6 separate regions of the Homo sapiens genome follow, and all the other regions are linked to region 1. Evidence: promoter capture Hi-C in human tissues and cell types (Jung and others, 2019). All regions are on one chromosome and are shown on one strand. The core of a region is centred on a gene start or on the middle of the fragment in contact, and the rest is flanking DNA. Distances in the headings are between cores, read along the strand shown. Region 1 holds the start of RNF152 (ring finger protein 152). Region 2 overlaps KDSR-DT (KDSR divergent transcript). Region 3 overlaps BCL2 (BCL2 apoptosis regulator). Region 4 has its middle 310 kb from the start of MC4R. Region 5 has its middle 370 kb from the start of MC4R. Region 6 has its middle 470 kb from the start of CDH20.

Region 1 (3,452 bases), core at 281-2,780:
GGGAGGAGGGGGTGGAGCCGCCGGGGAGGGCGGTGCCGCGGGGAGCGGAGCCCAGCCTCTCCCCCCACCCCCTTTGGTGCCGGAGTCTCAGTGACACAAAAAGCTCTCGCTCGGTGCCGAGCGCCTGGCGGCGGTGTCCGACCGCGAACGCGGAGGGCGGCCGGGCAGGTGGGGGTGCCGCCCGAAGGGCCGGGCCGGGTGCTGGGGCTGCAGGCGCCGCCGCCGCGCTGTCAGCGTCCGCCCCGTGGCTCTCGGCCGGAGGAGCGGCGGCCGCCGGCCCGGGGCGCGAGTCTGGCTGAAAGGAGCGGGCGCGCCGGGACCACCCGGCGATGCTGTCGCCGCCGCCGCCGCCTCTGTAGCGAGCACCCGAGCCCGCCGCGGAGAAAGGTCAGTGAGTTTCGGTTTGTTTCTCTGCTCTGCCGGCTCCGGATCGGGGGCGGACAGAGGGGTGCGCAGGGATGTCTGCGCCCCTACGGCGGCCGCGCCGAAGCCGTGGAAGCGGGAAAGGGCAGCTGCCGCCTGCTGTAACTGGGGAGATCTTCTGGACCGCGGAGGGGGTGGCGGGGCCGCAGGGTCCCGGGGAGGGGAGCGCGGGGTCTGGCGGGGCACGGGGGAGGTGGTCCCGGGAGTTGCGTGTCTCCTGAGAGCTGGCGGAGTTGGGCGGGCGGCCGCGGCGGGGAGCGGCGCTGTCGGCTGCTCGGCCGAGTCCTCGGATGCCCCCTGGAGCTCCGGTCCGAGGGAGCTTTCCTCGTGCCCGCGCCGCGCGCGCCCCTGGGTGTGCACGTGCGCGCGCGCCCGCCCCAGTTGCGCCCCCGGCCCGCACACACCCCGGCTCATCTTCTCCCGGTCCCCTTGTCTCGCGCCTTCTCCAGCCCTAGAAGTTGCCCCAGGGCCCCTCCCGGGATTAGAGAGCGCTGTGAAGGGCCAGATGTTGGGGGTCTTTTGTGCAGACACACGCGCCTGGGGCGCTTGCTCCTGGAAGGACAGCGGCAGGACAAAGCCAGCTGGACTCGTGGGGCGCTGCTCGGGAAGCGGCGGTCCCCAATCCCGCCTGGGGTCGGGGCATGGCTTGGGGAGCGCTGCCTGGGTCTGGAGAGAGTAGAGAAATCGCCAAAGCAGAGTGACGGTGACTTGATGAGGTGACGGTGACTTGATGAGGTGGCGGTGACTTGATGAGGTGGCGGACAGGGGCAAACGAAAGAAAGATGCTCGGGATTGCCGCGCTGTGTGCCTGTCTGCGCGGCTGACTAGGCGCCCCGCATTCCCATATGACCGGGTTACCTGGTAGATTTTGCCAGTGTGTCTTTGCCCCAAGATGTTATTCCCCACCTGCTCCGATTTCTTTCTTTCCTAGGGCTTACTGTTGCTAGTAGGCGCTCTGCCACCAGAGGGGAACTCGTGGGCGGGGGAGACTGCGGAGGAGGGGGGAGGTGGTTATTTATCCTGTAGAGACAATTAGGAGCCGTGACGCCCCCTTCTCGGCCGCCAGCCCTCCACACCTCATCTGCCTTGCTCCACCTCCCTAGTGCACCCGCTCCAGCCCCGTCTGCCCAGGAGGGCGCTTGGATTTCCTTCTCCGCGGCGCGTATCTAACCCTTCCTGCATGTATTTCACTGCAGGCTGAAGAAAGCTCAGTCTCAATTGTGTTTCCTGCCTGTCAGCCTCTTGCCTCCTAAACGTGTACCATTTCCACTTGATGTCATCACGCAGAAGGGGTGAAAGAGACTCGGTGACAGATACAGGTAACCCCCCACGATCTGGGTAGCGCCTGGGTGTCTCTGGGTCATTTGGGCCGACAGTGCTGGCACAGGGCTGTTTGGGTGGTTTCTGCATCAACATCGTTCCTATCTGTGAGAAGGTGTGGGGGCTGCTAAAACTCCTGGTTCAAAGAAATAAATTGCAAATGACTTTATACCTTCCCTTTGAAGAAGCCATTGGAGGTAGGTGCAGGGTGAATTTGGGATTGTAGAAATCCCACCTGGTTTCCTTTCATGGGAATTTTGATATAATTCATACACAGGCAGTTGTATCTGAATGTTAGGTTTCCATAGATGCCTGCTTTCTTATCTGTAGTAATAGATTTAGGCTTCAGTCTAGAGGTGGGGTATCCTTTGTTGAAAAGGTATCATTGGAAGGCTGATTGTACTTTTGCCCAGTGCTCTAATTGAGCACCGGTCAAATGCAGTGACCTTCGTATGAAATACTGTCTTTCTTCTGTTCCTTCATTGTAATAGTGTTTGCAATATTAAGAGAGACATGCTAGCAGTGAGTACTGGGAGGTGGAAGGGAGGGCTGTTGGGGGCAGCAGAAAGAGAACAGAGAAAACAGCTTGAGTGAAGTTTCCATTTAGATAGCCATGAACCAGTAGACTCTCATTCTGGATTTTATCTTTAGGTTATTGGGGCTTTTCCAAAAACTCTGGCCTGTTCTTTTCTTTCCAAGGATAGTTCTGTTTTGATGTCAGCCTAGCCAGATCTGGGGTTATCTTGATAAGAGTGCAATGAAAAAACGTAACCTTCAGACTTAGCAGGACACTCCGGCATTAGCATTTTCTGCTAGAGGGCAGAGTCCTGCGCATCCTACACTAGTAGCAGGGAATAAGAATGGTTATGGAAATGGGCTTTCGATTTTTCTTGTAGGAAGACAGATTGCTGAGGGCCAAAGGCTCCTGGTCTACTCTCTTTTACATTGCAGTAACACCTTGGTATCTGTGACAGATTCTCTCTTCACCATTTTCCTCCAAATCCCTTGAAAAATGAAGTTAAAAACTTGAAAGATTTATTATTCACCTCCAATGTAGTTTTGTTTTGGAAGGTGACTTTAAAAACATAGGTGACACTAGCATTTATCCTTCTACTACAAGCATTCAGGAGTCACTAGTAAAAGCAGTTGAGTTATCTAGTCCCAGGTGAAACAAAGGCCAGTGCTTTGCAAAGATCAGATGAGTAATGTGGTGCTAAGATAGAGGTATTTTTGACAAGTAATTTTTATGTCAGCAATAGTACAGGGTGTGTACTGTGTTGCTGCAAGAAGAAAAAACATGTGATGGGATAATAGGGAATGTAATAATGCAATAGAAACAAGGGTGTGGTTTTTTTTTTAATAGAAAGAATAAACACTTCGCACACAAAATTCCACATGGCAAAACAGTAGCCTGCCCATGTAAATGCACGTCCAAGAACAAAGATAGCCACAGTGCAGTGTTAGGTTTCATTGTGGTTTTAAATTGTGTACAGTAATAAATCATAATAAAGTGTCCATTGATGCTTAATTTTTTTTATATAAGAAGGAGGCTCCCCACCCTCAGATGTGTTTAGCTTTAGGCTGGAGGATCCCTAGAGGCTATTAGGCTGATCTCTGCCTCCAATGCCTGCTTCCTTTCTACAATGCTCATTTATTCATTTAGCAGATGTTTATTGGCACCTGATAGATAATGGACTCTGTGATAGATA
Region 2 (3,452 bases), core at 704-3,203, 1.5 Mb before region 1:
AAAAAAAGCTATAAAAGACAATTTGGGCTGGACACAGTGGCTCACGCCCGCAATCCCAGCATTTTGAGTGGTCAGGGCAGGTGGATCACTTGAGGCTAGGAGTTCAAGACCAGCCTGCCCAACATGGTGAAATCCCATCTAGAAAAAAAAATGGGGGGCAATTGAAGAAATATGAATATGGGCTGGATTGTAGGTAATATTATGGAATTGTTATTGCCTTAGGTGCGATAATGGTATTGTAGGTAATGTTAGTGTGCATTGTACCCTTCACTTTAGAAGACATATGCTTAAGTGTGCTCATACAGGGATGCAGAGGAAGTGCCATGATGTCTATAAATTACTTTGAAATGGTTCGGGGAAAAAAAACCCACACATGCACTTAAACACTACATGAAGCAAACATGTCTAAATAAATAACACTGAAGGATAAAGAATCGTTTCTGCAGTTTAAAAAATATCTAGTGATAGAATCTATGACTAACTGCCGGGCGTGGTGGTTCAAGCCTGTAATCCCAGCACTTTGGGAGGCTGAGGCGGGCGGATCACTTGAGGTCAGGAGTTTGAGACCATCCCAGCCAACATGGTGAAATCCCGTCTCTACTAAAAGTATAAAAATTAGCCGAGTGAGGTGGTGGGAGCCTGTAATCCCAGCTACTCGGGAGGCTAAAGCATGAGAATCACTTGAACCCGGGAGGTGGAGGTTGCAGTGAGCGGAGATCGTGCTACTGCACTCCAGCCAGGGCGACACAGTGAGACTCCGTCTCAAAAAAAAAAAAAAGAAAAGAAAAAAAAAGAATCAATGACTAACTGATCTTCAGTGCTTCCCACACATCTTTCACGTTTTTCTCCTTCCTCTCCCAAAATTTGCCCTTTGTATTATTTTTGCATATAACATGTACATACATATTATTCTTTACCCTACATCTCACATTTGCTTTAGGCTTTGGTGTACTGTTAAATAGATTCAATTTTCAAAAGATTGCTCTTTTACTATGCTTTTCCCAGTCAGCTATTGGCTGGCTGAGTCATCCTGTAGTCTTAATAATTTCCTCAAGAACTGCTTATGGGAAAAAGATTTCCTTGGTTATTAGATGTTCAAAATTATTTGTCTGAAACTTTTATGGGTGAAATACAGATTCGCTGAACGTGAAACCTTGACACAACATTCCTTCCTTGAGGATCTGACAGATGTTGCATCGTTCTCTCATGTTGAATGTCACTCTGGAGAAACCTGAAACTAGCCTGATCTCTTTTTAAGACAACTGACCTGATGATTTTGTCTAACTGACCAAAGTCTTCACTCTTTTAAAATCCAATACTTACTAGAGAATGACTCAATGTTGATTATTTTCAGTCAGTTTTCCCTGGTGTAAAATATCATATCTATCTACCTATCTATCTATCTATTTATGTGTATGTGTGTACACACACATATAAATGTTCAAATGCTTTAGTATTTTAGGAAAGTGTATTTGAAATTTTTAAAAATATTTCTAATGTCTTGTTTTTTTTCTTCAGGTATTCCTATTCTACATATGTCGACTCACATCCTTTGTCTGTTTTCTTATCTTTTTTTCTGTCTTTTAAATTCTTTGTTTTCATTTCATTTTGTTTGCTTTACTCATTATTTCCTTTCTGTTCCTTACTGTGTTTTTCACTCTATTCTCCTCCTGCGTTCACTTTCATTTTCATATCTGTGATGATTTTTACTTTTACTTCTTTCCTGATTTCTGCCAGTGTAACTTTTATCTCCTCTTGTTGTTTCATCATTCTTCCCTGAGTCCTTGCATTTGTAGTCTTCCTTCATAAAATAACTGCTTCACCAAATGTTTTAAATCATGGTGAAATATTTAAGTATCCAAATAAAAGATTTTTTGTTTTGTTTTGTTTTTTCCCTGAGTGTAAATCTATTGAGGAGTCTTTCTGCTCTTCACCGCTCTTTCCCCTCTTTTTTTTTTTTTCTCTCATAATACCTCTGTATCAGGATTGTGCCAGTTCCTTTCAAAAGAAATTACTTACCTTTCAAGTCGAGCACGGTGGCTCACACCTGTAATCCCAGCACTTTAGAAGGCCAAGGCAGGCAGATCACCTGAGGTCAGGAGTTCGAGACCAGCCTGGCCAACATGGTGCAACCTCATCTCTACTAAAAACACAAAAATTACCCAGGCATGGTGGCAGGTGCCTGTAATCCCAGCTATTCAGGAGGCTGAGGCAGGAGAATCACTTGAACCCAGGAGGCAGAGGTTGCAGCGAGCCAAGATTGTGCCATTGCACTCCAGACTGGGTGACAAGAGCAAAACTCTGTCTCAAAAAAAAAGAAGAAGAAGAAAAAAAAGAAACTATGTATCTTTCAGGCCGGGCACAATGGCTCACGCCTGTAATCCTAGCACTTTGGGAAACTGAGGCAGGCAGATCCGCTGAGGTCAGGAGTTCAAGACCAGCCTGGCCAACATATGAAACCCATCTCTACTAAAAATACAAAAATTAGCCAGGCATGGGGGCACATGCTTGTAATCCCAGCTACTCGGGAGGCTGAGGCAGGAGAGTCGCTTGAACCCAGGAGGCGGAGGTTACAGTGAGCTGAGATCATGCCACACCCTAGCCTGGGTGACAGATAGAGACTCCATCTCAAAAAAAAGTGTTTTTAATTTAATTTTCTATATTTTGTTCATTTTTAAGAATGTAAGAAGAGTAAGAATGCCAATATTGCTATTCTAAGGTAATCCAAAATATCTTTTTAATGGTTTCAACAAGATACAAAAAATATTTAAAAAAAATTATCAGATAAGATTAGAAATTAGCTTAATGGTTCTTATTGTTTATTTCCTGCTTTCAACTTTTTCATGTCAACCAAAAGAGTCAAATTCTAAAACATTTGAAGAGATTTATACTGAGCCAAATATGAGTGAACAATGGCCCATGACACAGCCCCGGGAGATCCTGAGAACATATGCCCATGGTGGTTGGGCTGCAGCTTGGTTTATACATCTTAGGGAGACATGAGACATCAATCAATACGTGTAAGATGTACATTGGTTTGGTCCAGAAAGGTGGAACAACTGGAAACTGGGAGGTCATAGGCAGATTCCAAGATTTTCTGATAGGCAATTGGTTGAAAGAGTTATTATCTAAAGACCTGGAATGAACAGAAGGAAGGAAGGAAGGAAGGGGGGAAGGAGGAAGGAAGGAAGGAAGGAAGGAAGGAAGGAAGGAAGGAAGGAAGGAAGGAAGGAAGGAAGGAAGGGAGTTATTTAGATTTCTGCTTTGTCATAACCCATGCATTTATTTAACTCCAAGTTTCCTGAGGACCAAATCATCAGTCAATTTAACAATAAATTATTGGACACCTACTTAGGTGTCCAGAATTCAGCAAGGCACTGTGGAAGAATCTTCTGAGTCAAAGAGTTATAAGTCATGTGATTACTTTATAATACAATGTGATAAATGTTATA
Region 3 (3,452 bases), core at 486-2,985, 1.3 Mb before region 1:
CGGCCTGATTCTTCCTTCTGTCTTGGTGACCAGTCATCTCTGTCCAACATGCCAGCTTCTCTGTCTTCCCCCACTCAGGTAAATTCAGACATTTGCCCCAGCCTAGGTCTTAGCTTCCTCGCTCTGTTTCCTCTGTCTCGGAGATCTCACCTACTCTCTCTAATCCTTCCAATTTTAATGCAGGTTGTTCCAAAACCCATATCTCCAGGCCTGACACGTCTCCCATTTCCATCCTGTATGTCCATGCCACCTTGGAGAATCCCCCACCATTTCAAACCAAGCTCTGCCTCTCCCTCCGCCACTAACAGTGTATTGGGTACAGTGTATTGGGTTGAGGATTTATACACTTCTCCCTAGCATTGCCAGTTAGGAGACCACCTGCCAATGGGAACCACTAGTCCTGGCTCCCCACATCTTAGTCATCTTCAGTTCCATCATCTCACTTTCTTTGTATCCGTACACAGACTAACACTTCATTTCCCCCACTTCCAACCCTGTCCTCATGGCGTTCCTAGAAATGACATAGGCGGACATCTACTAAACCCTTACTTGGTCTGTATAAGTGGAGGAGTTCTAGGTGAAGGGAACAAAAGCCCAACTTGCACCCTGAAAACAGAGAGTCACGGCCCCTCGATCAATTCACACACTTGCACCAATTTACCGACCCAGAAGCCCTTGAATGAAGAGGAGGCCGGGTCTCCTTGACGAAGGACCCTACCACACTGTCAAGAATTAATACTGTTGCTTTTTCTCCCAGCCTTCCCCAAAGGGACCTATAGCCTTTTGCCAGGGTGACTGTGCACTGGGGAAAAGGAATTAATCAGACCTTTTGGGGACTACTGGTGACTGGCTCTGAGCTGACACTAATTCCAGGAGACCCCAAACATCACTGTGGTCCAGCAGTCAGAGCAGTGGCACGTGGAGGTCAGGTGATCTCTGGAGTTTTCACTTCATGTTTGTGTCCATCCCCATAGCACTTTGTTCAGGACAACGTGGCAGGGCCCACACTGCTGCAGTGGATTCCTGGAGGCTTGTACCTCCCAACCCCCAACCCAGAGCTGCCTACAGCCACAGTATTATTCAGTCCAAAGCACCTCTGTGACAATTATATTCCTGGCTCTAAACTTCCACTGGTGCCCAGTTGTTAGGAACAATGCAGCTTTCCTTAGCCCGATAGTTAAAACCCTTCACAAAGTCTCCTTCCCCTTTATTTCCAGTTTTCCTGGCTATAAATCCTCAACCCAATACACTGTACCCCACTCCCCCCAGCCCCCAGATACACCATCCCCCAACACGAAACACTTACCCTCTTCTCAGCTTTGCCTTTATCCACGCTGTTCCCTCTGCCTGGTATTTCCTTTTGGCTCCTTTCTCTGGATTTGTGTGGTGCCTGTTTTAGCACAAATATACCATGTCCCCTTGTAAAATGTCTTTTCTTCACTTCAGCTGGTAACAGCCAGGGAAATGAGCAAAAACGTGTGGATAGATTAATTCACCAGCATCGGGGAGCCGGGTGGGCGGGGGTGGGGGGTACAGTGTGGCGCAGGGCATGTCTTTCTGTGGGTAGGTCGTTAACAATTTTCATAAACAAAAGATTGCCTTGTTTATACCTGTTCATCAGAGTCAGCATTTCTTAAATCTGTTTAAGGTGAAAGTGAGTGCTTTGTGTTTTAAAAATCATATGGGAAGCACAGAAATAGGAAATGTTCACTTTGTTTAATGTGGAAGTATATTCCATAACAGGTGGCCTCTCAACTTGCACAAATAAAACAAAATTGGTTGGCTAAAATCTATCAGAGAAGAAGAGGAAGTAATCGCCAGGTGGTAGGACCAGGAGCAGATGGGGACTATTTACTTAGATCCTCAATTCTTCTTGTTGAGTGTCCCTCTAATTAAGTACCTTTCCTTAGATGTTAAATAAACTTTCATATTTTTAAATAGTATTTTTTTTAGAAAAGTGTATTCCCATGCCAGTTTCTCCTTCTTCCAAAGTCAGGGGTAGAATAACCATATAGCATTAATAGAGTCTGTGTAAGCTTAAATAGTCCAACTTTCCTTTCAGGCTTTTTATTTGAAGTTTCCAAATTACACAGCTAAAATAAAAACAGCACAGAATTTAAATTGAGACCATTATATATCGCAGGGACTTCCCCCACCCCCATATTAAGTAAGGCAGTGTCAGCCCTGGTGGTCCGTGCAGACTCAGTGCACTGGAGGCAGAAGTTCCAGGTGGACTGACTCCTGCCCCCACCCAGACCTCTGGTGCTCCCAGGCAGTCTGGAACAATCAGACTCTGGTGCTCCCAGGCAGTCTGGAACAATCAGACTCTGGTGCTCCCAGGCAGTCTGGAACAATCAGAGTTGCCCTTGGTCTTCCGGAAATACTGTAATTCCCTGTGCAATGTTAGCTCTTGACCATCTTTGAATTCTTTTTCTTAGACTTACAAGGCTCTGTCGCTGGTTTCCCTCTCACTCTTCTGACGACTACATTTCAACTTCCTTCAACAAACACTTATGAAGCATTTATATAGCACTTACTGACGGCCACAGCCAGGTGCAGTTTTGTGGATCTGTACACAAATGAATTAGATGAGCCGGTGCCCATCGGCCCTGGGGTTCACAGACCAAGGCTCGCTCTGCCGGCATCCTGGGCTCCCTCCTGCCGCCTGCACCTGGAACGCTTGGCGGTCTCCGTGCCTCTTCTCCAGTTCTCTCCTCCACTGTGCTCCTTTGGAAAGGCTTTTCTGTCACGGCTTCAATCATAAAACTGTATTCCTAGTCCTATTTCCTCATCTGAGGTGAAGCATGAAATCTCCTCTTGTTTACCCCGAATTCAGCCAGCTCACCACGAGCCCTCTCTGCATCTGTCAGCCTCTGTCAGCAGCTGTAAAAGCTTCCCTTCTCCCCAGACCCCCACATCTGGAAACCGTCTTTAAGTCGTCCTCCCCTTTTTACTGTGTGTCCAGGAATCCACTTTTGGGCTTCCTCTGACCGGCCTCTTCCTTCCTTCTTTTCCTCCTCCCCGCCCCACTGCCTCCACCTACTCTAGTCCCAAGGCCGTGCCCCTGCCCCAACCCTCCCACTGTGCTCTTCCCACCCACACCAGAGTCCCCTTCTTTAAATCCTGTCCGATCAGTGTCACTCTCATTAAGTGACAGAGATGATGTCTCCACCTTTTATATCTCCAACAGCATCTAACCCAACACCTGGCACTTACTAGAGGCATCAACGATGCTTGTTGTTCTGTGTGGCGAAGGCACACCTGGATTCTGGATGGTCAGTCTCAGCTCTCCATCTTTGCTGCCTCACAGGGACTCCAAATGTGGAGCGTCTCCCACTGCCCTTAATTAGGGAAATTCAGCCTCGCAGAAGACAGTGAAACTGATGAAAGCATTGGGAAATGGAACCTAGGAAAGTTAAAGAATTGGCATCATTTGATGTGAGAAAGAGAAG
Region 4 (3,452 bases), core at 424-2,923, 1.2 Mb after region 1:
ATTGTACAACATAATATAGTTCATAACAATGCATTGTATTCTTTGAAAATTGTGGGGAGAAAAAGCAGAGTCTAAGTGTTCACACCACAAAAAACGAAAAACTATGCAAGGTAACGCATACCTTAACTAGCTGTATTGAGCCACTCCGCAATGTATATATATTTTAAAACATCATATTGTACATGATATCTACAATCTTTAATATGTCCATTTAAAATAAATTTTTAAAAAGTTGCCCTAATTGCCTCCCAAAATATCTCTTTTAGTTGGATTCTTTTATTTCCAATTAAAATTTGCACATTGTATTTAATCTTTATGTTTCTTAGTCTAGGATGAACAGTTTATGCATATTTATTTTCTTTCTTGCCATTGAAAGACTATATGTTCCTGGACTATCTTGAGTCCCCGGGATCTCAAAAATTTTTACCTAGGTCTCTTAGCTGGAGTGTTCTATTTGGCCCTAAGTTAATGCCAAGTTACTGAGAAATAACTATTCATATATTTATCAGAGAAGTGACAGGGAATACTTTTTCTTATCTTTTATTTCATTTTATTTTCTCATAGTTACCATATCCTGTTTGGAAATGTTCAGTCCAGAATGTTTGGGAATTTGGAATTTTCTCTGGGTCTTATACTCATTGTCTCTGCTACTTGGTTACCTGGGACTGTCACAGGGATTCCATCCTCAAAACCTTATAAAAACCTTTGCCTGCTTAATTGCCTCAAAGCAATTTTTGGAGGCTGTTTACCTGCTGTGAAGAAGTAATAAAGAGAAGCCTTCTGTTCTTTCCAAACTTCTTTATTTTAACAACATTGACCAAAAAAAAAAAAAAAAAAGAGAGAGAGAGTCTAGGTCAGTTGCCTTACTCAATGTTTGACACTCTTATTAAGTGGTTTGTTTCTTAGAAGTTTGCAAACCCCACAAAGTGGGATGGATGTCCCTGCAGCAGAATGTCTTATTGGGAGGAAGTTGATTAGAATCCACAATGTAGTTAGACATTCTGGTTACTAAATATTGTGTGCTGTGCTGCTGGTCTCTTATATAATAATGATTACTTTCTCCTCTTTCCCTGCCCCAGATTCCGCTAACCAAAGTTTTGTTTTTACCAGACTTTAATTGGAAGTATTTTGAATAGTTGCATTACAGAGTAGAATGATTTTTAAATTTAAGGTAACATATTGCAATTCCTGTAAATTCATTGACCAGTGCCCACCACAGGAATTCAGTTGATAACTTCTTCAGTAGGATGCAGCCTTCTCATAAGTTACTGGTTTTCCTAGCTCCCTAGACCCTTCCTTTTCCCTTCCCTTTATCTTCTGCTCTCCCATCTCTAGAGGCATGAACAGAGCACCACACTACAGCCTCTTTTACTTTATTTCAGAGGAAAATGTACCTTTTATTTCAACCTATCTAAACTAAATTACACATCTGGAAATCCCACCTTTAGTAGTCAAACAAGTATGCTAACTTATTTTCCAAGACAAAGAAGAGGTTGTCTCTTCTATTATTCTTTCAGGCTAATGGCACAAATTGAGTAGCTTTTAATTTATGTTTCTCCCTGGTGTAGTCTCAGATAAAATATGTTGCAGAAATAAATTGGACTTAGAGAAACCAATGCATTCTAAAGATATTTTACAACTTCCAAAGCAAACTGTAATCTCCCAAATAACTAACAAAGCAAATCCTGATGAGCTTGAGAAGGCAGGGCTCATGAGTTCAGGTTCAGAGCCCAGCCTTGATACAATGACCCCCAACTCTGCCAACACCCTGATGCTCACAGAATGTGCTATTTGCTGGACCACTCAGAGGGACTCTGCAGCATGTTGCTGACCTGAAAGCATAGCTTCACCATTTATTTGGACAGTCCTTCCCCAACAACAACATTCTTTACCAAGAAAAGACAGAGGAATGAAGCTTTGGAGATAAGCTGCAAGCGGTGAAGCAACGTCATGTCAGATGGGAAATACATTGCTGTTATGTGATCAGCTTTTGCAGAACTTAAAAAAAAGAAAATCCAAATATTCTGTTAAACAAACTTGCTTTCTACTCTGCTACAGAAGAGTAAGAAAAATAGCATTAGAATTTTTTTAAGCATCAACTGGGCACAGTGGCTCATACCTATAATCCCAGCACTCTGGGAGGACAAGGCGGGTGGATCACTTGGGGCCAGGAGTTTGGCACCAGCCTGGCCAACATAGCAAAAATCTAGCTCTACTAAAAATACAAAAATTAGCTGGGAATTGTGGTGCGCACCTGTAATCTTAGCTACTCGGGAGGCTGAGGCATGAGAATGGCTTGAACTTGGGAGGTAGAGGTTGCAGTGAGCTGAGATTGCTCCACTGCACTCTAGCCTGTGTGACAAAGCAAGACTCTGTCAAAAAAAAAAAAAAAAAAAAAGAGGAACTTTTTCTAGGCATCAGAAGCTGGTGTGGGCTCTTCAGTTAAATATACTGCAGTAGGTGCCGTTGATGCTCCACCTAAGCCCCCTCCTAATCTTCTCTTCGGCATACCCTAGCCTGACTCCTTGTGGCCAGCACTTACATTTCTTTGCCTGAGGGTTTTATCTGCTGTCAGAGCCTGGTTCCTTGCGTGCACAGCAGACCAGAGGTGCTGAAGAATTAACATCCTCCAGAGAAGCCTTCAACTAATGACTGCTGACTTTCCTAGAATCCCAGAGGGTTTAAGCGCTGTTCACCCACAGGTCCAGCTGGCTTGTCAAGACACCCTTTACCCGCCACCTGCCCTTTCTTGTCTTACTCCTCCCACCTCCTTACAGGTGTTCCTTTCACCTTCCATATAAACTCAAATACTGTTCTCAGGGTTTGTTTCTGGGAGTCTTACATATGTTATATGCTCTCTAGTACTGTCTGAATGGCTTTAAATAGATTTACACCTGTATAGTACAAACATGAGTCTTCTCAGATATTGTAAACCATTATTCAAAGCAGTTAATAAAATAAAAATTAGATATTCTTATTATATCTTTAGAAACCCTAAATAAATTCTCTCATAAGTAATTGATATACTTTTTTTATTTCATTTTCCTGGAAGGAAAAGCAACACGAACCAAATTGTTCTTGCTATGACAATATTAAAATATGATTAAAAGTGTCATATTTTATACTCGTCCTAGGGTAAACAACCAAAACCCAATTTATGTCTTCTGTATTATTTAATATTACTGTGGAAGAACATAGGGGATGACACTGTTGAACAGTGTAATTTGAGTGTGGAAAACAGGGTATTAAATAGCATCATATAAAGCAGGAAGCTAGCAAACCAGTCGGAAATATTAGAAAACTCATTAGTTAACCATATTAAGGCACGAATTATATTTTCTCTTTTACATTTAAAAATCAATAATACTGGTTACCTGTTAATTGGTAGCCTTGGGTATAGGAGAAGAAATGTTCATACAACTTTGGGACAACTCTAATAAACTTTACCCAGG
Region 5 (3,452 bases), core at 361-2,860, 1.2 Mb after region 1:
CTATGTTTCTAAGAAAAAAAGCCCCACAATTTCATCTTTTTAAATGGACCAGAAGTTTATATTTTCCATTTCTTAAACACATACTTTATAGTCTTAGAGGTCATAAATTTCTTTTCTTTCAGTTATTGTTTTCTGACAAAACTCTATAATCTTTGAAATTATCATATTTAATGACTGTATGGCATTATCTCAAATTTGTATCCATGATTACTTAATCAGGTATTGAAAATAGTGCATAAATCTTTAATACTATAGAAATATTTTCGATAGTGTGACAATGGATGGCCAATACAATCTATATAGATTTTTATATGCCTTGCACTTTTTGTCAGATATCAGATTACATATGACTGAATACAAGCATGATCAATTTCTTGTTTGATTTTTACCAAATTTATTTACAAAAGGTTTGTTCCAATGTGTCCTGTTACCAGCATTAGGCAAGTGTGTGTCAGTTTTACCACGAAACCCTTGGCATAAAATTTTTAAAAGATAAAAAGATTATGCTAATGTAATAATTTTCAAATGGTTTAATCCCTCTTAGCTAAAATAAATTTGCATTTTATATGTAAATGATCTTATTTTCCAATGTAGATCAATTTTTAAGGGACATTTTAACTAAAAACAATCTAACGATGAATATCCTAGAATACAGATTAAGCATTTAACATAGAAACACCAAAATCATAGATTGTAATGAAAACATTCACTAATTAGGTCACTCCTCTCCATTTTTCACTATTTACACACAAGACTAGGTAATGTCTAGATCTTAGGCAAGAAGCACATTAACCTTGTAGCACATATGATGGGCCAGTAAATAGCTTCATATAAAATATCTAAGGGAAGATACTCAACATTTCTAGCTTGTTTTAGCTTGAATGGAAAATACAGTGTTTGGAAAGAGTCATCAATATTTAACAAACTCTGGTGTCATTAAAAGTCCATGGTTAATGATGGTACTTGGAATTTTTTCAGAAGATCATTTTGTTTTTACTTCAGTGATACAATGATGTAATTAGAATGAGATTAAAGTCCCAGTTTTTCTAGGTTCTATCTGTGTTATATTAAACAGTTTATTTCATTTCCTCATTTGATTTCCTCCTTGCTATTATTTGAATGATACTGTTCCCTCTAAAATTTATGTTGACACTTAATCCCCAGTGCAATAGTTTAAGAGGTGTGACTTTTGGGAGTTGCTTAAGTCACAAGGGTTCTGCCCTCAGGAGTGGGATTAACACCCTTATAAAAGAGCTCCAAGTGGAAGAAAGCATTGTCTTCCCCTTCCATCCCCTCTGCCATGTGGGGACACAGGTTTCTCTTCTCAGAGGATGATGCAGCATCTCTGTGCCATCTTGGAAGTGTACACTGGGCCCCCTTAGATGTAAAACTTGCTGACATTATAGTCTTAGACTCCCAACCTCCAGAAATGAGAAATGAATGTCTGTTCTTTGTAAGTTGCACAGTCACAGGCATTTTGTTATAGCACCACGTGGACTAATGACACAGGATTCTTGGGGTGTTGCATTGCCAGCCGGAAACCTCTGTGGCCAGCGGTGCCATTGCCTGAGTTTAGTTCAGGCCTGCTGGGCTTGTTCTGCCCACTCAGCCTGGCAGGCTGCACTTGGCTCACACTACCAGCCTGGATCTCATACCTGCCAAGGGTGAACCAGTTGCGGAGAGGGGAGATGTGTGAGTGAGCAAGCCTGGGGTCCCAACACTGTGCACAGCCAGGCACTCTGGCTGTGGCGGGGCCGGCAGCTCCAGGAACCGGCACGGGCTTTGGCTTCCTGGGAGGCTGCAGCTGGGCCAGACATACTGCACGCAGCTTCTATTGTGGGCACCAGGGAACGCAGTGGCAACCAGAAGCTTGGAGATGCTAGGAACGACAGAACCCCAAAGAGGGGTGTCACAGCCCTGGCTTGGGGAGCTCCTAGGTCTAGGCTCCTTGAAGGGCCACAGCTCTTCTCTCCTTCTCTCTCCTCTCCTCCTTGTCACTCCCAAGATGGCAAGCAGGTGGGCATGTTTCAGACCTATTTGTGTTACAGCTCTTTCTGTCCTGCCATTTGGTGAGTCACGAGTTCTTGTCCTGTGTCCAGGAAGAGAGAGGTATGCAGAGAGCTGGAGGGTGAGTAAGGCAAAGGGGTGCTTTATTGAGATATAACACAGCTCTCAAGAGACTCTACGTGGTTACCTCTTTTCTGCAGGCAGGTCATCCCATTGTCTGCTCAGCTGTCAGCTGAGAAGATACCCAGAGTGGGTAGCACCTCTCTGCAGGCAGGGCTTCCCAACATTGCCTGGTTCTTGCTGAGTTCCAGTTTTTATGGGCTTCAGAAGGTAGACAGTCTCATACTGACTGGTCCATGTGTGGCCATCAGCAGCCTGGAAAAAGCATCGTCTAAGTTCTCACTCTAGTCCATGGAACTGGCAGCCAGGCCCCCATGCCTCACGCCTCCCGGTTTGAATGTGGGGCTTCACTGGGAGATCTGCCCCTTTCCACCCAGGAACCTGTCTGCCTCCTGCCACCATTCATGGCATTTAGGCTGTTCATGACAAGGGGTGCCTGCAGCCCTGTGCTGAGCTGCCCTCAGCACCCCCTCAGCTTCCCTCCCATGCTCGTCAGCACCCAAAGTCCAGAGGGGGCTGAGGTGGCAGGGGGGTGGCGTGTCAGTGCTGCTCCTAGTGCAGGGACATCTGGCCAGGTTGTGTCAGTGGACAGGCTTGGCTACAACTTTGCTTCAAAATTGGAATGGGCGCTAGGAGTGGAGAGAGGCCAGGCAGCGGGAGCAGGCACTTCTGAGCCTGCAGGGGAAGGGGGGCTTCCCGGGCCCCCAAGAGCACAGGGATGCTTGGGTCTGCAGCCACATCTGGGTGGCTGTAGTTGTGCTAGGGAGCCCAGAGCTCCTGCTTCACCAACTCAGAAGGGGACTGGGCTCCCGTCTGTTCCTAGCTCCCGCCAGCTCTGTGACAATGGCACCCCCAGCTGCCTCTCCCCCGCTGCAGCCAGCATCTTTGCAACAGCTGCTCCAGATGGGCTGCCACTGCCATCACTAACACGCTTCTCTATTTTTGTGTGTGGGTGGATTTTTTTTCTTTCCATCCGTATTTACCTTTTTAAAATTTTTATTATTTATTTGTTATTTTACTTTAAGTCCTGGCATACACGTGCAGAACGTGCAGGTTTGTTTCATAGGTATACATGTGCCATGGTGGTTTGCCGCACCTATCAACCCGTCATCTAGGTTTTAAGCCCCACATGCATTAGGTTTTTGTCCTAATGCTCTCCTTCCCCTTGCCCCCGACCCCCCGACAGGCCCTGGTGTGTGATGTTCCCCTCACTGTGTCCATGATGATGGTTCTTCACAAAGATATTATATCACGTAAATAGTATGTGTTTATGAGCACAGTAGCTGCTCAATGTTAGTCCCTTCCTGTTATTTGTACATGCTGCC
Region 6 (3,452 bases), core at 662-3,161, 1.0 Mb after region 1:
TGATAAGATTGTCAGTTCCCAGTTTCTAAATCTTTTTTTTATTCTGAACAAGGGAATTAAAAAAAAAAAAGAAAAAACGGGCACTCTTCTCAGAGCTTCTCTTATTCTTGTCACCACCAAAAGCTCATTACTTATGAGGACTACTATTGTAATGCAATATGTCAATATTACTTCCTATGCTTATTTCATAAAAAATTTACTCTCTGGAAGTTTTACTCTTCAACTGAGAGTAAAGGAAAATTGCTGATGGGTATGGAGAAGTAGCTGTACCCACATAGAGCAAGATGGATTCCTCATTTTCTGCTTGGCAGTGAACTTGACTTCCTAAAGAAGAGTAAGCCTGGTGGCAACTGTGGGGAAATAGAGCATGAGCACTCCATCAGCTGGGTTAAACCAAAAGCCAGCCACCCGAGGAACACTGAACAGAGCTGTAACATCCTGCCAATCATGGAAATGTTGGTAATCACTTTCCATGCTTTGCCAGTTCTCTTATCTTAGTAGCAAGTTGTGAAAAGCTGAGCTGGGAAAATTACACTTAATTTTACCCTGTAGCTACCAAATGACTACCAAATAACATATTTTAAAGATGATACTTGTATTTAGTATAAAATACACAAAATGCTATGGTGATCCAGGTAAAAGTTTTTTCATACTGGTCGCTACTTTTTCTTGAATACTGTCAGTAAGTGACATATTTAAAAATATAATTAAAAAGAAACAAAATAAGCTAGGTTTGGAAAACATACAGAGCTAGTTTTTCTGGATACTTATGGGTAGCTTTATTAATCTTTTATTAAAAAATGTCATGCCAAAAATGGAATATATTTATGAGATTTCAATTAATGTCTACTTTCGCTATATGATAATTCTATCAGTACTTGAAGAGGGTACTTTCTAAAATCCTAGGGAAAAATTCACAATGCACCAGGAGGAAAGATGATCCCAGTGATTTTTCTCACATGACAAATTTATCAGTTGGCGTTGGTGAGCACTTTTGTTGATGAGTTGAATAATTTTTATGAGTTGACTAATATATTGGGATATATGGTTGTGGGTAGCTCTATTGGCCTACGTCCTACAGTGTGGAAAGTCAGATCACTCTCCTTTCTTTTCTGGCCTTGAACTGTATCAAAGTAAATGCCTACAATTTCTTTTCTTAGGATAATAAAATGTTGCTTCTCAGTGAAAGTAAGACAACTACAAATTTGAGTTAAACACTGTGCTTTAAATATATTTTTAAAAATTACATTTGGAATCATTAAAAATATTGGACTTTCACTGTAGAATAAGAAAATTCAGGAAAATATTTATGGAAAACATAGAGTAAAATTCTCCTCAATTGCATAAAAATGACAGGTTATTTAGCTTGGGCTGGAAAGTTCTGAAAATATCCCACTGGTAGTCCCAAAGCAACAAGGAAATTAACACGGACAATGAGAATACTACTTTTTTTTTTTTTTTTTGAGACGGAGTCTCACTCTGTCACCCAGGCTGGATTGCAGTGGCGCGATCTCGGCTCACTGCAAACTCCGCCTCCCGGGTTCACGCCATTCTCCTGCCTCAGCCTCCCGAGTAGCTGGGAATACAGGCGCCCACCACCACGCCTGCCTATTTTTTTTGTATTTTTAGTAGAGACGGGGTTTCACTGTGTTAGCCAGGATGGTCTTGATCTCCTTACCTCGTGATCCGCCCGCCTTGGCCTCCCAAAGTGCTGGGATTACAGGCGTGAGGCACCGCGCCCCGCCGAGAGCACTGCTTTTGATATGTACCAAAAAACTAATCATTTCAGCATCCTCATTACTTAAGCACCTTACATCTAGTTGGGTACTGCAAAGATATAGCCTCATGCTTTTTAGAAGTGATAATAATATTAACTGGAAGATCATTGTCAATTTTAAAATTGAGATTAGCGTTTGCTCTTTCTTAACTTGAAGGACTGCCCTCGAGGTTATAATTACTGAGTGATGTGAGAAAATGAACTCTAACACTAAAGTTAGTTTCATGTAGCCATATTTACCTCAGTTCTGTAGGGGGTGGTGAAATAAAAGGGCATGTCCATTGGGCCCTCTAGCATATTTAAGATGTGGGCAAAGGCAATGAGAAACATATGAAAGCTTGTTGGGCTTGTCTTCTGACATCCCCCATCTTCATTTTCAGAACAGTAGGAAGTATGTGGTCTTGTCTCTCTGGAAAGGGAACATCTGCTTTGTAGACCCAAGGTTCACTAGCTACATCCACCCCAAGGGCAGCCAGCTCAGCAAGACACAAATGTTCTATTAACAAATTTGGCCCTTGTCTCCTGCCTGTAATCTCCACATTGTCTTTTGCTCTCTTGGCTTTTGACAGGCCCTTTGTAAAGAGCCAAAAAACCTTGCTGCAACCTGCAAAATGAAACATAAACAAAAAGGAGTGAAAAGGAATTCCTGTTGCTGATAAAAAGCCATGAGCGCTAATTACATCACTACTAGTCCATTGAAAGAGAACAAGAAAAAAAGCCTGAAATGAAGATATGAGGAAAACAAAAACAAAAAACACGAATAGTGAAAACTTTGAATTGTTTTCTGTTTGGGATGCTTGTGGATACACAATTCAATTAATGTTTTATCTGTGGTTCTTTACTCTTTTATTTTTTTATAAAAATAAATCCTGGCCAGGCATAGTGGCTCACTCCCATAATACTAACACTTTGGGAGGGCAAGGTGGGAGGATCCGTTGAACCCTGGAGTTCCAGACCAGTTTGGGCAACGGCAAAACCCTATCTGTACAAAAAATACAAAAAGTTAGCTGAGCGTAGTGGCTTTCACTTCTGGTCCCAGTTACTCAGGAGGGCTGAGGTGGGAGAATCACTTGAACCCCGGAGGTTGAGGACAAGGCTACAGTGAGCCGTGATCACACCACTGTACTCCAGCCTGAGAGACAGAGGAGAACCTGTCTCAGAAGAAATCAATCAATAAATAAAAATAAATGAATAAGTAAATACATCCCAAATTTTTAAAATTAATATTGCTTCTATGATTAGTGTAACCTATTTACTATTCTTTCTTACTCTGTTCTAAATTACTTTTTCTTAAGTCTTTACTTATTTGGAGTTTAAAGTTCTCAAATTTTTATATTATGAAAAAATATCACATTAAAATAGATTTATTTCCAAGATCATCTTTTTGCTCTTGCTTTTAATAAGGTATTTACAAGGCAGGCAGATAAATATTAAAAGTCTTCAAGAGCAACTAGATTTATCATAGAGGATGTATTTACATTGTGATTGATAGTAAAAACCAAACTCCTAAATGAGAAAAACATCTCTACATAAAATTATTAGAACTTATTATACTTTTATAGCCATGGATCTCATTAGAGGCCATTGTAGGATGATGTACCACTGAGATTTCTTATTCTAAAACCACTAGCAAAGTGAAATATTCCTGATACATGCTCAGAGGTTGTATGCATAT

The links. Contacts are between HindIII fragments. The study calls those that stand out against the background at their distance.
Region 2: a contact is called between a fragment that was not itself captured here and the fragment with the promoter of RNF152 in region 1, in 1 of the 25 tissues and cell types used here (stomach).
Region 3: a fragment that was not itself captured here is called in contact with the fragment with the promoter of RNF152 in region 1 in 1 of the 25 tissues and cell types used here (stomach).
Region 4: a contact is called between a fragment that was not itself captured here and the fragment with the promoter of RNF152 in region 1, in 1 of the 25 tissues and cell types used here (dorsolateral prefrontal cortex).
Region 5: a contact is called between a fragment that was not itself captured here and the fragment with the promoter of RNF152 in region 1, in 1 of the 25 tissues and cell types used here (IMR-90 fibroblasts).
Region 6: a contact is called between a fragment that was not itself captured here and the fragment with the promoter of RNF152 in region 1, in 1 of the 25 tissues and cell types used here (mesendoderm cells).

Annotation. Positions count from the first base shown.
Region 1 is chr18:61,891,085-61,894,536 of GRCh38, reverse strand. It overlaps RNF152 (ring finger protein 152), which reads left to right and starts at 1,530. Exons shown (of 2, transcript NM_173557.3): 1 at 1,530-1,742. RefSeq lists silencers at 1-124, 195-344. The HindIII fragment of the contact is 14,100 bases long and covers 1-3,452 here.
Region 2 is chr18:63,377,329-63,380,780 of GRCh38, reverse strand. The region is part of intron 1 of KDSR-DT (KDSR divergent transcript); the gene reads right to left. Among named protein-coding and RNA genes, the nearest start is that of KDSR-DT, 12 kb to the right of the region's middle. The HindIII fragment of the contact is 7,971 bases long and covers 1-3,452 here.
Region 3 is chr18:63,206,414-63,209,865 of GRCh38, reverse strand. All of the region lies in intron 2 of BCL2 (BCL2 apoptosis regulator), which reads left to right. Among named protein-coding and RNA genes, the nearest start is that of BCL2, 110 kb to the left of the region's middle. The HindIII fragment of the contact is 4,136 bases long and covers 1-3,452 here.
Region 4 is chr18:60,676,081-60,679,532 of GRCh38, reverse strand. No RefSeq gene overlaps it. Among named protein-coding and RNA genes, the nearest start is that of MC4R, 310 kb to the right of the region's middle. The HindIII fragment of the contact is 8,619 bases long and covers 1-3,452 here.
Region 5 is chr18:60,738,851-60,742,302 of GRCh38, reverse strand. No RefSeq gene overlaps it. Among named protein-coding and RNA genes, the nearest start is that of MC4R, 370 kb to the right of the region's middle. The HindIII fragment of the contact is 4,222 bases long and covers 1-3,452 here.
Region 6 is chr18:60,864,920-60,868,371 of GRCh38, reverse strand. No RefSeq gene overlaps it. Among named protein-coding and RNA genes, the nearest start is that of CDH20, 470 kb to the left of the region's middle. The HindIII fragment of the contact is 7,027 bases long and covers 1-3,452 here.